Regions from separate parts of the Homo sapiens genome. Here region 1 is linked to region 2. Evidence: promoter capture Hi-C in human tissues and cell types (Jung and others, 2019). All regions are on one chromosome and are shown on one strand. The core of a region is centred on a gene start or on the middle of the fragment in contact, and the rest is flanking DNA. Distances in the headings are between cores, read along the strand shown.

Region 1 (6,416 bases), core at 639-3,138, 42 kb after region 2:
CATGTTGGCCAGGCTGGTCTTGAACTCCTGACTTCAAGTGATCCAGTGCCTCGGCCTCTTAAGTGCTGGGATTATTATAGGCGTGAGCCATAATGCCTGGCCCTAATAAGAGAATTTCTAAACATTCCTCATTTGGAAATTTTTTTCTCATCTTTTATTATTTCTTCCCCATCTTTCATTTTTTTATTTTTATTTTATTTTATTATTTATTTATTTATTTTTGAGACGGAGTGTCGCTCTGTTGCCCAGGCTGGAGTGCACTGACTGGCATGGTCTCGGCTCACTGCAGCCTCTGCCTCCCGGGTTCAAGCGATTGTCTTGCCTCAGCCTCCCGGGTAGCTGGGATTACAGATGCCTGCCACCACGCCCAGCTAATTTTTGTATTTTTAGTAGAGACGGGGTTTCACCATATTGGTCAGGCTGGTTGCAAATTCCTGACCTCAGGTGATCTGCCCGCCTCGGCCTCCCAAAGTGCTGGGATCTTCCCCATCTTTTATTATCAGCCAACTTCCTTGTATGAAAGATAAGGATTTGATGTTTTTCCTTTCCCTCTCCCATATTAAATAACCTCTCCCTCCTCCCTAGTATACAGTTCCGGTTACCGGTTCCACGGGATTTAGCCTCTCAGTAGCCAGCATGTTCGTCATGGCCGTCTTGCCATCGTGGGCTCTAGCAGTCACTACTGTGTCCTTATGACGACCCTTCACCATCGAGTAGTGGACCCTATGAGGAATACCTTCCCTTCATTTTACAAGGAAGCAGCCATCGTATGCAGGCGTGTTCCCAATAGTGGGGAAGAGGTGCTTTGTCCTTTTTTTCTTTCTTTCTTTTTTGAGATGGAGTTTTGCTCTTGTTGCCCAGGCTGGAGTGCAATGGCATGATCTCGGCTCACCGTAACCTCCACCTCCCAGGTTCAAGCGATTCTCCTGCCCCAGCCTCCCGAGTAGCTGGGATTACAGGCATGCGCCACCATGCCTGGCTAATTTTGTATTTTTAGTAGAGACAGGGTTTCTCCATGTTGGTCAGGCTGGTCTTGAACTCCCGACCTCAGGTGATCCACCCACCTCGGCCTCCCAAAGTGCTGGGATTACAGGCGTGAGCCACCGCGCCCGGCCTGTCCTATTTGTGCATAAGCTCCCGAGCCCCGGTCCCCCACCACGGAGGGAGCTGTTTGGTCTTAGCAGCACATTTCCTGAGGAAAGGGTTGCATTCCAGCCACCTGCAGTTTCATGCTCAGAAAAATCTTGAACAATAGTTAACTGTGGCCAAGTACGTCACTTTACTTGCCTCAGTGGGTTAAGATATCCCTCCTTTCCCGGGGAAATCTCTCTGGGCTTGGTCAGCCACTGTGTTGTGACCTAGAGTGTCTGAAGTGCCTGTGGCCTGGAGCTCCGGGGCTGAGAGAGATCTGAGCATAGGAGTTTGGGTCCTGAAGTTCTGAGTGGCCCCTGGAAGTAGATGTGACAGTCGAGTGAGAAAAGGGCTTAGGAAATGGTGCCCTGAGAAATGACAGCCACTGAGGCCGAGGAAAGGGTCTATATCAGAGACAGATGTGTAGAGGGGGCCTGGAGCCAATCCAGGAAATCCAGGAGGAGGGGCAATGCACAGTGCCACATTCTCGAGGGGACAGATAACACCAAAAGCATCAGGAGAGAGAGAAGGGAGATGGGGGAGCCAGAGACAGGAGCCATACCCATTGTCCATGGTCACCTCCTGGGCACCTCCACAGATCAGCTTTTTCATTAAGTGCCTGCTCTGTGCCTATCTGGGGCTGGGGACAGTGCAGTGACCGAGTTAGCCTCAGGTCCTGCCTGCATCGGCCTCACAGTCCAGTTGGAGAGACAGACTTGTCACCATGCAGTGAGGACCCAGAGCAGTCAGAGCTCAGATAGAGGATCCCAGGGGTCTGGAGGTCAGGGAAGGCTTCCTGGAGGAGGGGACATCTGAGTTGGGATTCTCCGGTATGGAAGACAGATGAAAGGGAGTGAGTCTGGAGGGAGAGAGTTCAGGGAGGAGACGGAAAACGATTCTATGTAACCCAAGAGTAGATTCACACCAGTGGGTAGGATGTACTTCCAGGAATAAAATTCCTGACAGAAGTCAGGAAGAGGATATTAGGTTAACATTTACAAACTGAGCATTTTCTCCCTTACTCTGTCATTGCCATTCTCCCAATCCTGTCAGTTGAGTATTTTGACCCCCAGTTTTGATAAGGAAACACCAAGGCTCAGCTTGCGAATCCAGAAAGTGACAGAACCAGGATTTGAGTCCAGGTCTGTGCGACTCCAAAGGTCTTGCTGCCATTTATTAAGGCCGGCCTCGTGTTAAGCCCAGGGAGCTTTGAGAACCTTGAGAATGTGTCTGACCCAGCCTATGGTTCAGGGAGGGCTTCCTGGAGGAAGGGACAGTCCAGCTGAGATCTAAAAGAAGAATTGGGAAAAGACAGGAAGAGAGAAATGGAGGGGGCCAGGTGCGGTGGCTCACACCTGTAATCCCAGCACTTTGGGAGGCTGAGGCGGGTGGATCACGTGAGGTCAGGAGTTCGAGACCAGCCTGGTCAACATGGTGAAACCCTGTCTCTACCAAAATATACAAAAATTAGCCAGGTGTGGTGGTATGTGCCTGTAGTCCCAGCTACATGGGAGGCTGAGGTGAGAGAATCACTTGAACCCGGGAAGCGGAGGTTGCAGTGAGCCGAGATTGTGCCACTACAGTCCACCTGGGACAGCATGGCGAGACTCCATCTCAAAAAAAAAAAAAAAAAAAAAAGAAAGAAAAAGAGGGAAAGAAGAGAGAGAAGAGAAAGAAAGAAAAGAAAAGAAAGAAAGAAAGACCATTGTCCATATTCTTTTAAGTAATAGAGAAAGTAGGAATACTGACTTACTCATTTTATGAGTCCAATAGAATACTGATATCAAAGCCTGATAAAGTCATTACAGAAAAGGAAAATTATAGGTTAAGATCTCTCATGAAGTTGGAGTTAGGCCAGACACGGTGGCTCACACCTGTAGTCCCAGTACTTTGGGAGGCCAAGGTGAATGGATCACTTGAGGTCAGGAGTTTGAGACCAGCCTGGCCAACATGGTGAAATCCCGTCTCTACTAAAAATACAAAAATTAGTCGGACATGGTGGTGGGCGCCTGTAATCCCAGCTACTTGGGAGGCTCAGGCAGGAGAATCACTCGAACCCGGGAGGCAGAGGTTGCAGTGAGCCAAGATCAAGCCACTGCACTCCAGCCTGGGCAACAAGAGCAAGACTCTGTATCAAAAAAAAAAGCACCAAAGTCTCATGAAGCAGCACTCAGAGGGTCTCCTCTCTGCCTTAGTCACACCACACTGGAGAGTGTTTCCATGGCCACTGCATTGCAGAGCGGAGATCATGCCACTGCACTCCAGCCTTGGGGACAAAGCGAGACTCCGTCTAAAAAAAATAAAAAAAAAAAACAGCAGAACATAGAATAATAAAAACTGCATACAAATCCCCTGTAGAAATGGGGGAGCGGAGAAAGGGCAGGCCGCATGGGGGCAGAGTGCTCACCTTTCATAGTGGGGCTGGATTATGAGTAGGTAACGATGGCGTAGATCTGAACAAACCTCCAGTTGAAGAGCTCAGAAATGAGTGAGGTATGCTTACTATGGGCTGTCCAGGAGATGGCGCTAGGGGAAAACAGGCTGGCGACCGCAGTAGTTGAGGGTTCCTCTGAGGAGGGGACTTTGGCTTTACATTTTATAGTTTGAGTACTTTGTTTTCTTGCCATGTGTTACTTTTATTTGCGGCAGGAGTTGGGGGTGGGGCGACGGGGAATGGTAGGTTTGTTCTTTTCTTTTCTTTTTTTGAGACAGTCTTGCTCTTGTTGCCCAGGCTGGAGTGCAGTGGCGTGGTCTTGGCTCACGGCAACCTCCACCTCCTGGGTTCAAGCGATTCTCCTGTCTCAGCCTCCCGAGTAGGTGGGATTACAGGGGCCTCCCACCACGCCCCGCTAATTTTTTGTATTTTTACTGGAGATGGGTTTCACCATGTTGGCCAGGCTGGTCTTGAACTCCTTACCTCATGATCTGCCTGTCTCAGCCTCCCAAAGCGCTGGGATTAAAGGCCTGAGCTACCGCGCCCAGCCAGTTTGTTCTTTTCTTCTCACCAATTCCTTCTGATTGCTGCGTGGGGGACAATTGCAGAGGGGTGAGGCTGGGGCCGGCAGGTGGGAAGGAGGCTGGAGGCGGGACTCACTTATGTGTTAAGCTTAGATCTAATGAGCATCATGCGTGTGCCTGGCCTGGCACTGGGCAGTGCTGGGGACACAGCAGTGACTGTGACAGCCCTGGGCCCCACCCTTGTGAGGCTTACAGGACAGTGGGGAGACTGATTGCAGACAGGTAACTGGATAGCCACTATTCCTGGTTGTGATAGGCACTCAGAAGGGGATAGACAGGCTGTATTCCTCCTATTCAGGAGGTCAGGGAGGAGAACGTTGGTCAGAGCTGGGATGGATCCTGGACCAGGACAGCAGAAGGGAATCCACTGGGAGAGATGTTCAAGATGCAGAATGGACCCGACACGCAGCTGAGAGGCTGTGGGAGAAGGGGAACAGCTGGGCTGAGGCCCCCGTCTCTAGCCAGGGGACAGGTGTGGGGCCAGGTGCTGGGTTCAGGTTTGGATGTGCTGAGTGTGAGAGGTCTAGGAGACATCTGGAGCGTGTTGACCCCCGCAAGTCTGGTGAGTCCTCCAGCTTAGCCTGTCCCGGCCCCTCACAGCTGTCCCTTCTAGAATCACAGCCCTGTGATTCATCCCCACCTGGGCCTTGTTTCCTGAACCCCACATCTGACCGCTGGCCCGAGGGAGAATGCCGTCGGCCCCTGCTCTGAAAGCCCTGAAAGCCCATGCCTGCGTGCACACACGCGTGCACACACACACACACCCTCTTGATTTGATTTCCTGTGGCCTGGGTATGTGCCCACTCCCATTGGCACACCTAGACCCACCTGCTGGCCCAGATCCCCATGCTTGGTCTGCACTGAGACACTTGCATTTCCACGCTGGGAACCTCACCCAGGAAGGCTAGAGGATCTGGAACCCTCACCCCTCACCACTCTCTGGCCACTGTGCTAGGTGTCCCTGACATGAAGGAGGCAGTGACAGTTACGGGCCCAGCTCTGGGCCACCACCAGGTCTGGCGAGTGTCATTGTCAGGATGATGCTGTCCTTCCTGTGTTACAGAGGGGCCTTGGGGCAGGCTGTCATTGCTCAGGCAGCAGGTGGCGGAGCCCCGGGGGGACCCCAGATCAGCCTGACCCTAAGACCTCAGTGTGGGAGGGGTCTCCACAGCCTGGACCCCAGGAACCCACAAGCCCAGGGCCTAAGTCACAGCTGTAACAGTAACTGCAGCAGCTGACAGTGACAGTGACAGTGACTTCTCGGGCCCTAAGCTTGCACCTCAGGTCTTCCCTCCAGCTCCAGCAGAGCTCCCCAAGCCTTCCTGCCACCCCACCCCTTTGAAGATGAAAAATGTGTAGTGGCTGGGCTCAGTGGCTGTCTCCTGTCGTCCCAGTACTTTGGGAGGCTGAGGCAGGATGATTGCTTGAGCCCAGGAGTTCAAGACCTGCTTTGGCAACATAGCAAGACCCAGTCTCTACCAAAAAACAATTTAAAAACAGCCAGGCATGGTGGGGCATCTATAGTTCTAGCGGCTCCAGAGGCTGAGGCAGGAGAATTGCTTGAGTCTAGGTGTTCGAGGTTGCAGTGAACTGTGATGGAGCCGCTGCCTTCCATCCTGGACCACAGAGTGAGAGCCCATCTGTTAAATAAATAAATAAATAAGATGGAATATGGCAAGACCCCATCTCTACCCAAAAAAAATAAAATTAGCCAGGCATGGTGGCATGCACCTGTTGTCCTAGCTACTCAGGAGGCTGAGGTGGGAAGATGACTCGAGCCTGGGAGGCAGAGGTTGCAGTGAGCTGAGATTGTTCCACAGCACTCCAGCCTGGGCAACAGAACGAGATCCTGTCTCAGAAAAAGAAAAAATAAATTGTGTGCCCTCTAGTGCATTTTCAAGTTGACAAGTAAAACTTTTCTTCATTAACCTTAAGTAGTTGTGAAGGATGGAATTTCTGGTTCTGGTGTGTTATGATACTGACATGTTCAAACAGCTGGTGCATCCTTCCCTTCATATTTATTGCAGTTCGCATACAATAATGATTTGATGCCTACCAATGTCTGGTTTAAAGATATATATATATAGGCCAGGCATAGTGGCTCACGATTGCAATCCCAGCACTTTGGGAGGCCGAGGCAGCCAGATCACTTGAGCCCAGGAGTTCAAGACCAGCCTAGGCAACATACTGATAAACCCCATCTCTATTTTAAAAAAAATACAAAAATGACTAGGCACGGTGGCTCACGCCTGTAATCCCAACACTTT
Region 2 (6,433 bases), core at 983-3,482:
CTCTGTCTCAAAAAAACAAAAAACAAGCCAGGTGCCGTGGCTCATGCCTGTAATCCCAGCACTTTGGGAGGCCGTGGCAGGCAGATGACCTGAGGTCAGGAGTTCGAGACCAGCCTGGCCAACATGGTGAAACCCTGTCTCTACTAAAAACAAAAAAATTAGCTGGGTGTGGTGGTGCATGCCTGTATACCCAGCTACCAGAGGCTGAGACAGGAGAATTGCTTGTACCCGGCAGGAGGAGGTTGTATTGAGCTGAGATCATGTCCCTGCACTCCAGCCTGGGCACAGCAAGACTCTGTCTCAAAAAAAAAAAAAAAAATCAAACCTGACAGCTATCATTTTTTAGTGTTATATGCCACATCTATCTGAAGTCCCTTGACCAATAATGAATTCTCATGATTAGTTTATGAAAGATGTGATGTTAATAATAAAAATAAGCTAATGTTTTAGGAGCACTTATCATTCATTTGTTCACTCCCTGAAAACAATGTTTTTTGTTTTTTGTTTTGAGATGGAGTCTTGCTCTGTCACCCAGGCTGGAGTGCAGTGGCGCGGTCTTGGCTCACTGCAAGCTCCGCCTCCCGGGTTCATGCCGTTCTCCTGCCTCAGCCTCCTGATTAGCTGGGACAACAGGCGCCCACCATCACATCTGGCTAATTTTTTTGTATTTTTAGTAGAGATGGGGTTTCACTGTGTTAGCCAGGATGGTCTCCATCTCCTGACCTCGTGATCCGCCTGCCTCAGCCTCCCAAAGTGCTGGGATTACAGGCGTGAGCCACCACGCTCGGCCAGAAAACAATGTGTTTCACACCTATCACCTGCCCAGCAGTCTTCTAGGCAACAGACATGCAACAGTAAACAAGCCAGACACAAAAATGACACTCTTCCTAGTAGGAAGGCAGACAACTAGAAAAAAATAAGAGAATGTTGCCTTCCCCAAAGGGTAGGGGAAAAGTGAGGCAGAGAAAGATGGGGAGTGTTGGGGTCTGGTTGGCATATTTTACAGACTTGATAGCATTGACACCATTAAATGAGACCGCCAGGAGAAAAGGACCATGATGGCCGGCCTCGGTGGCTCAGGCTTATAATCCCAGCACTTTGGGAGGCCAAAGCAGAAGGATGGCTTGAGCCCAGGAGTTTGAGACCAGCCTAGACAACATAGTGAGACCCCTGTCTATAGAAAAAAAAAATTTTTTAAATTGGCCAGGTGTGGTGGCACACGCCTGTAGTCCCAGCAACTCAGGAGGCTGAGGTGGGAGGATCACTTGAGCCTGGAAGGTTGAGGCCGCAGGGAGCCATGATCGTGCCACTGAACTCCAGACTGGGCAAGAGAGTGAAAACCTGTCTCAAAAAAAGAAAAAAGGTGGGGCACGGTGGCTCACGCCTGTAATCCCAACACTTTTTGGAGGCCGAGGTGGGCAGATAGCTGGAGCTTAGGAGTTCGAGACCAGCCTGGCCAACTTGGTGAAACCCCGTCTCTATTAAAAATACAAAAATTAGCCGGGCGTGGTGGTGTGTGCCTGTAATCCCAGCTACTCGGGAGGCTGAGGCAGGAGAATCGCTTGAACCTGGAAGGCAGAGATTGCAGTGAGCCAAGATTGTGCCACTGCACTCCAGTCTGGGCAACAGAGCATGACTCTGTCTCGAAAGAAAAGAAAGAAAAAAGCAAAGCAAAGCAAAGCAAAGAAAAGAAGGAAGCAAGCAGGCACCATGAGTGACCACCTTGATTCAAAGAGGAAACTGAGGCACGGAGATGTCACTAGCCTAAGGTCTGACCAAGAGTCAGGCTGGAAATGCAACCCCAGAGCTCCTTCTAGGGGTGGCCCTGACTTTGGAGTTGGGGACCTAACAGAACCCTTTATTCTCTCCGTTGTTGGGGAGGAAGATGCAGAAGGTTAATGACCAGAGGATGAATGACTGAAGCCTGGGGTCTCTAAGGGAGGAAATGGCTTAACCCAGGGAAGGTCAGTAGCGGGGGCCTCCTCTTCCCATAGCCGAGGACCTGATAAATTTGGGGGTGTGTGGTTGGAGAGAGGGGACCTTCCAGCTGGGGACTTGGAAGGATTCGGGGGTGTTCCAGTAGCAGATGAGCCTCACCCGTGGCTGGAGGCGTTTAATGGGGTGAAGCCTGAAAGGGGTTAAGGGGCAGCGGCAAAGGTGGGGTTAATGGGGGCGGGCCTGGCCGGGGCGGGGCCTCGGCTGGCGGCTCTGGCCCGGGGGCCGGGAGGAGTAGCCGCTGTTCTGCCCCGCGGGGGCATCCGCTGGGTCCCCGCGCCGTTGTCAAGACCGGGGACCTGGACGCAGCGGAGAGAGGTGCCGCCGCCCGCCCCGTCCAGTCGCCGCGCGCAGGTAAGTGCCGGGTCCTCCCCGGCTGCCCGCGATGCTGCGGGGTCTCACTAGGTTGCCCTGCTCGTGGCGAGACCGCTCCTCCCCGCCCCCTCGGGGGCTGCCTCAGTCTCCCGCGCCGTCTCGGTGCCCGCCCCCTCTGTTGCTCTCCCTGGCTTTGCGTCTGTCTCCAACTCCCGCCTGATGTCTCTGTGTCTGTGGTCCCTCTGCCTCTGGACGTGTCTTTCCTTCTGTGTCTCTGGATGTCTCTGTCTTTTTCTTGATCTCTGCCTCTCTGTCTCCGTCTGTCTGTCTCTGTCTCTCTGTTTCTGGGTCCCACCTCCCTCTGCCCCTGCCTCTGCCTCACCCCCGTCTGTTGTGGGACCTCTGCGGATGTCTCTGACTCTATCTCCATCTCTCCCTGTCTCTGTGTATCTCTTTGCTCTCTCCCTTCCTGTCTCTTCATCTCTATTGCCCTGTCTCTTTCTCTCCGTCTCTTATAACACTGTTTTGGCACCTTCAGCTCTGTCTTCTCTCCTTCCAAATCCTCCGCATCCCGGAACTTTCCTCTGGGCTGGGAACCTGCTTGGGAGTGGGGTAGGGGGCAGGAGGCTTGTGACCTGGGGCAGGCGGACTCTAAGTGACACCATGATCCCAGCGCCCCCTTCACGGAGCCACCCCACTGCCCCTCAGGTCGCACCCAGCCCGCCCGCCAATTTCAGGAATTCCTGCCTGGGGGGTGGACTTCCTCCCCTACTTCCTCTCTTCCAGGATTTGGCTGGGTCACCATTAACTCTTTCCTGCTTCCGCCTCACTCTCCCCCCTGGAACTGGACAACCCCTCCTCCCAAACTAGGCTGAGGAATAGCTCTAGGATATCTGTGAGGCATCGGTTGTGGGATGTGTGTGTGTGCGTACTCAGGCTGGATATGCATTGGGGAATTTGTTTGGCGCAGAAGTGGAGAGGATGGGGCCACACCCCCCAGTTCCCCCTCCAGAGCCCACCATCAGCCCCCCTCCTCCTGAGCCCACCAAGGGGGTATCCGCCCCCACCTCTGTCTTTGTAGATGAACTTGACTTCAGGTTTGGGGTGAGGATGAGGAGGTTTTCTTTTCTGGGGGAATCCCAGCTGAAGAGGATGAAAGACCCATAGGGGCTCCTGGAACCCTGGGAATCCTATGATCAAGTACCTTGAATGTGAACATCTTTGAATGGAAGGGCCCAGATGGAAGAAGCATTGGAGGGGAGGCCTGGGAATTCCAGATCTTTCCAATCAAAGGTCCTGGGGATACTGGAGTCCTTCAATCCAAAAAGAGGAGTGTTGAAATCTTGGCACGTTTCAGTGATGGCAGCTGAGAGCTGGAAAGGGTTTGCGGAGCCACCTAGGCCAACTCCCCCTGCCCCCATTTTATAGATGGAGAAACTGAGGTCCAAAAGCAGAAGTCCCCACAGTGAGTCAGTGCCAGGCTGGAGGGTTGGGACCCCAGTTTTCAACTGAAGCCCAAATCCACAGAGCTGGCTTCTTCTGCTACCACTAAGTCGGATTAATTTGGGGAAAGAGGTCTTCTCAATGAGGAGGGAGAGATGCCAGGGTGAGTAGAAATGGCTGGAATCCAGAAGGGAGGGTTTTAGAAGCAGAGGAGAGAAAATATTTCCAAAACCATGGTGGTGGGGAGGGAGAGGGGCAATAGTTGGTTTGGGTGGAAGGGGTGGAGTTTCGGGAAGAGAGGGAGGGAGGTGGAGGGGAACCGGGATTAACTCCAGCTTCAGTCTCCTGACCCTCCGCCTGGAGCCCACCGTTCCCTCGGGGACAGGGCCTATAATTTGGTTTGTGTCTAGACAAATAATAACTCAGCTGGTGTGAGCGGGGAGGGCTGAGGCTAGGCCCACTAGCGAAAGGGTAGAGAGGCGGCCTGGATATAGCATGTCACCCCCAGGTGGTGAGAATTTAGGGGCCAGGTGGAGGTGGTGACTAACACGCCCCTCTCTTCCCTCCATGAAGCCATAATTTCTTAGAATTCTGCACAATCTTAGAAATCAGGCTGCTGGAATGTTCAAAAGCAGGCGAGAGAAGGGGGGAAAGAAAAGGAAGTGGGGCTCACCGTATTTAGTGTATGTTCCCATTTCTGTAAAAGAGAAAAGGGAAATACATATTCCTGTTTGCTGGGGAAAGATAAAAATCACTGAGCGTTTAATAATAGATTATGAAAGTCATAGAATGCTTAAAAAAATCATAGCGTGTTCTAACAATAGAACTTTCGAATCTTGGAATGTGACACTCCTAGAATATTGGAAACTTAGGGTAGGTACTTACAAAGCCACGATGTAATAAATAGAATGAAAGAAGAGTAACGCTCTAGAATGTTATAATAGAACATTCAACTGCGAAGTGAACTAAGGATAGAACCTGAAGACTGCAGAACCATAGAGACCTAGAACGTCAGAGAGGCCATCTAAGGACTGGTATCCCTAGTAGGCAGTGTGGGCTTTGGGGGCACAGAGACCCTCTCGGTTGAAACAGGGATACTGAGGTGCAGTGGGGCCGTTAGGGTAGCCCGATTGCCCCCTGGTTTCCGCCGGCCGCCAGGGCACCAGGTGGGGAGCGAGGACCAGTGATCACATTTCGTCCCTAATGAGCAGACCGGAGCTGGCTGGTCCCTTGGGGCTGCAGGGAGAAGGCGGGGAGGGGGGGGTGGTGGGAGCAGGAGCCCACAGAGGAGGAAAAGGGGGAGGTGAGATAGCCTGGTGGCATCGGGGACAAGGCTGGTGAGTGAGCCCAGGGGTGCTGGGGGATGCGGGGGGCTGTAGCACTTCTCCCTCTTGTCCTCAAAATCCTCCAAGTTTTTCAGCTTTGCTGGATTTTGGGGTGGCTGGCAGGATGCGGCAGCCGAGGCTGCTAAAGTTGGGGGGGCCAGGTCTTCCTAGTCTTTCCTGTCCCCCCACCATCTCTCCATCCTTGGGTATATTTCTCTTCCCCCCGACTCTCTGGAAGGGGCCAGCAGGGACCCAAGAAGTGGGGGCCTGTGGGACAGACAGGGGGAGCTTCTTGTGGATGTGAGATTTGGGGGTTTACCCCCTCAACAGAGCCTAAGGGGCAGAACTTAGATCCCAACCAGAGAGGGTCCTGGAAGGGGAACGGGGTTATGGGGATCAGGTGATGGAAGGTCGCTTGCTTTCTTTGTGGGGAGAAGGTCGTATCTTCTAGTAGGTTCTCAGAGGGGCCAGAGACGCTCAGAAAGACTTGAGAAAAATTACAGAAGTTCAGAGAGTGAAGAGAAAAACCTCAGGGGAAGGGAAGCTGTTTAGTTAACAGCGACAGGAGGTTTGCCCAGTCTTGAGACATCAAGTGACTTAGACAACTGCCTTGCTGCTGCGGGCCTCGGTTTCCCCATCTGTACCAGGAAGGGGTCAGAAATAGCCTCACACTCCCAGCTGCCACACATACGTCGGCTGCACTGTGGCGTTCTAAGAGTCTGACGTTCCATGCTGACTTTTGGGGTTTCCACGTTGGGCAGATCTCACGTGGGGAAGAAGAGAGGGCTGTCTGGGCACCCCTCCCCCCCATGTCCAGCATCCGCAAGATGCCAGCAGGTTGGGGAGGAGGGGTGGGAGGGAGGAGGGGTGAGAGCTGGACCGGTTCCCCCTTGAGGAAATTAGCAATGGGAAGTGTATTTCCTCCTCTGGCTGCCGGAAGTGTCTCCTGCCCGGGTACCCGAGTTAGGTCAGCAGAGCCCTGGGGGTCGATAGAAAGTGGGGCAAAGGGGACTTCTAGCCCTCGGTGGGTGTCTCCTGCCATGAAGAACCGGTTTATTTCTTGTCTCAGCCCCCTAGTCCCCGTGGAATAATAATAATCGTTCAAATACTGCATGTTACGGAGCTGATATCGCATTCTAGCAAGGACGTTCCGGTCTGTGATGTGATGACTATAAAGCCTGTGCCCCCTTTTACAGAAGGGAGAAACTGAGGCTCCTGGAGACCTAATTCTCTAAATGTCACAGGAGGAAGGGAGAGACTAGGGGCAGAGAGATGGGGAGAGAGAGGGCAGAGGAGAGGGGAGGGAGGTTATTTTGAGTGACTTGGTCTGGGTGGGAGGTTTCAAGTGGAAGGGA

What was found. Contacts are between HindIII fragments. The study calls those that stand out against the background at their distance.
Region 1: a contact is called between a fragment that was not itself captured here and the fragment with the promoter of GPR4 in region 2, in 2 of the 25 tissues and cell types used here (mesenchymal stem cells and spleen).

Annotation. Positions count from the first base shown.
Region 1 is chr19:45,555,751-45,562,166 of GRCh38, reverse strand. The region is part of intron 1 of OPA3 (outer mitochondrial membrane lipid metabolism regulator OPA3); the gene reads left to right. Among named protein-coding and RNA genes, the nearest start is that of OPA3, 26 kb to the left of the region's middle. RefSeq lists enhancers at 1-315, 3,638-4,138. The HindIII fragment of the contact is 5,882 bases long and covers 1-4,829 here.
Region 2 is chr19:45,598,011-45,604,443 of GRCh38, reverse strand. GPR4 (G protein-coupled receptor 4) reads left to right here and starts at 2,232. Exons shown (of 2, transcript NM_005282.3): 1 at 2,232-2,349. RefSeq lists enhancers at 5,794-6,430, 6,431-6,433. The HindIII fragment of the contact is 53,447 bases long and covers 1-6,433 here.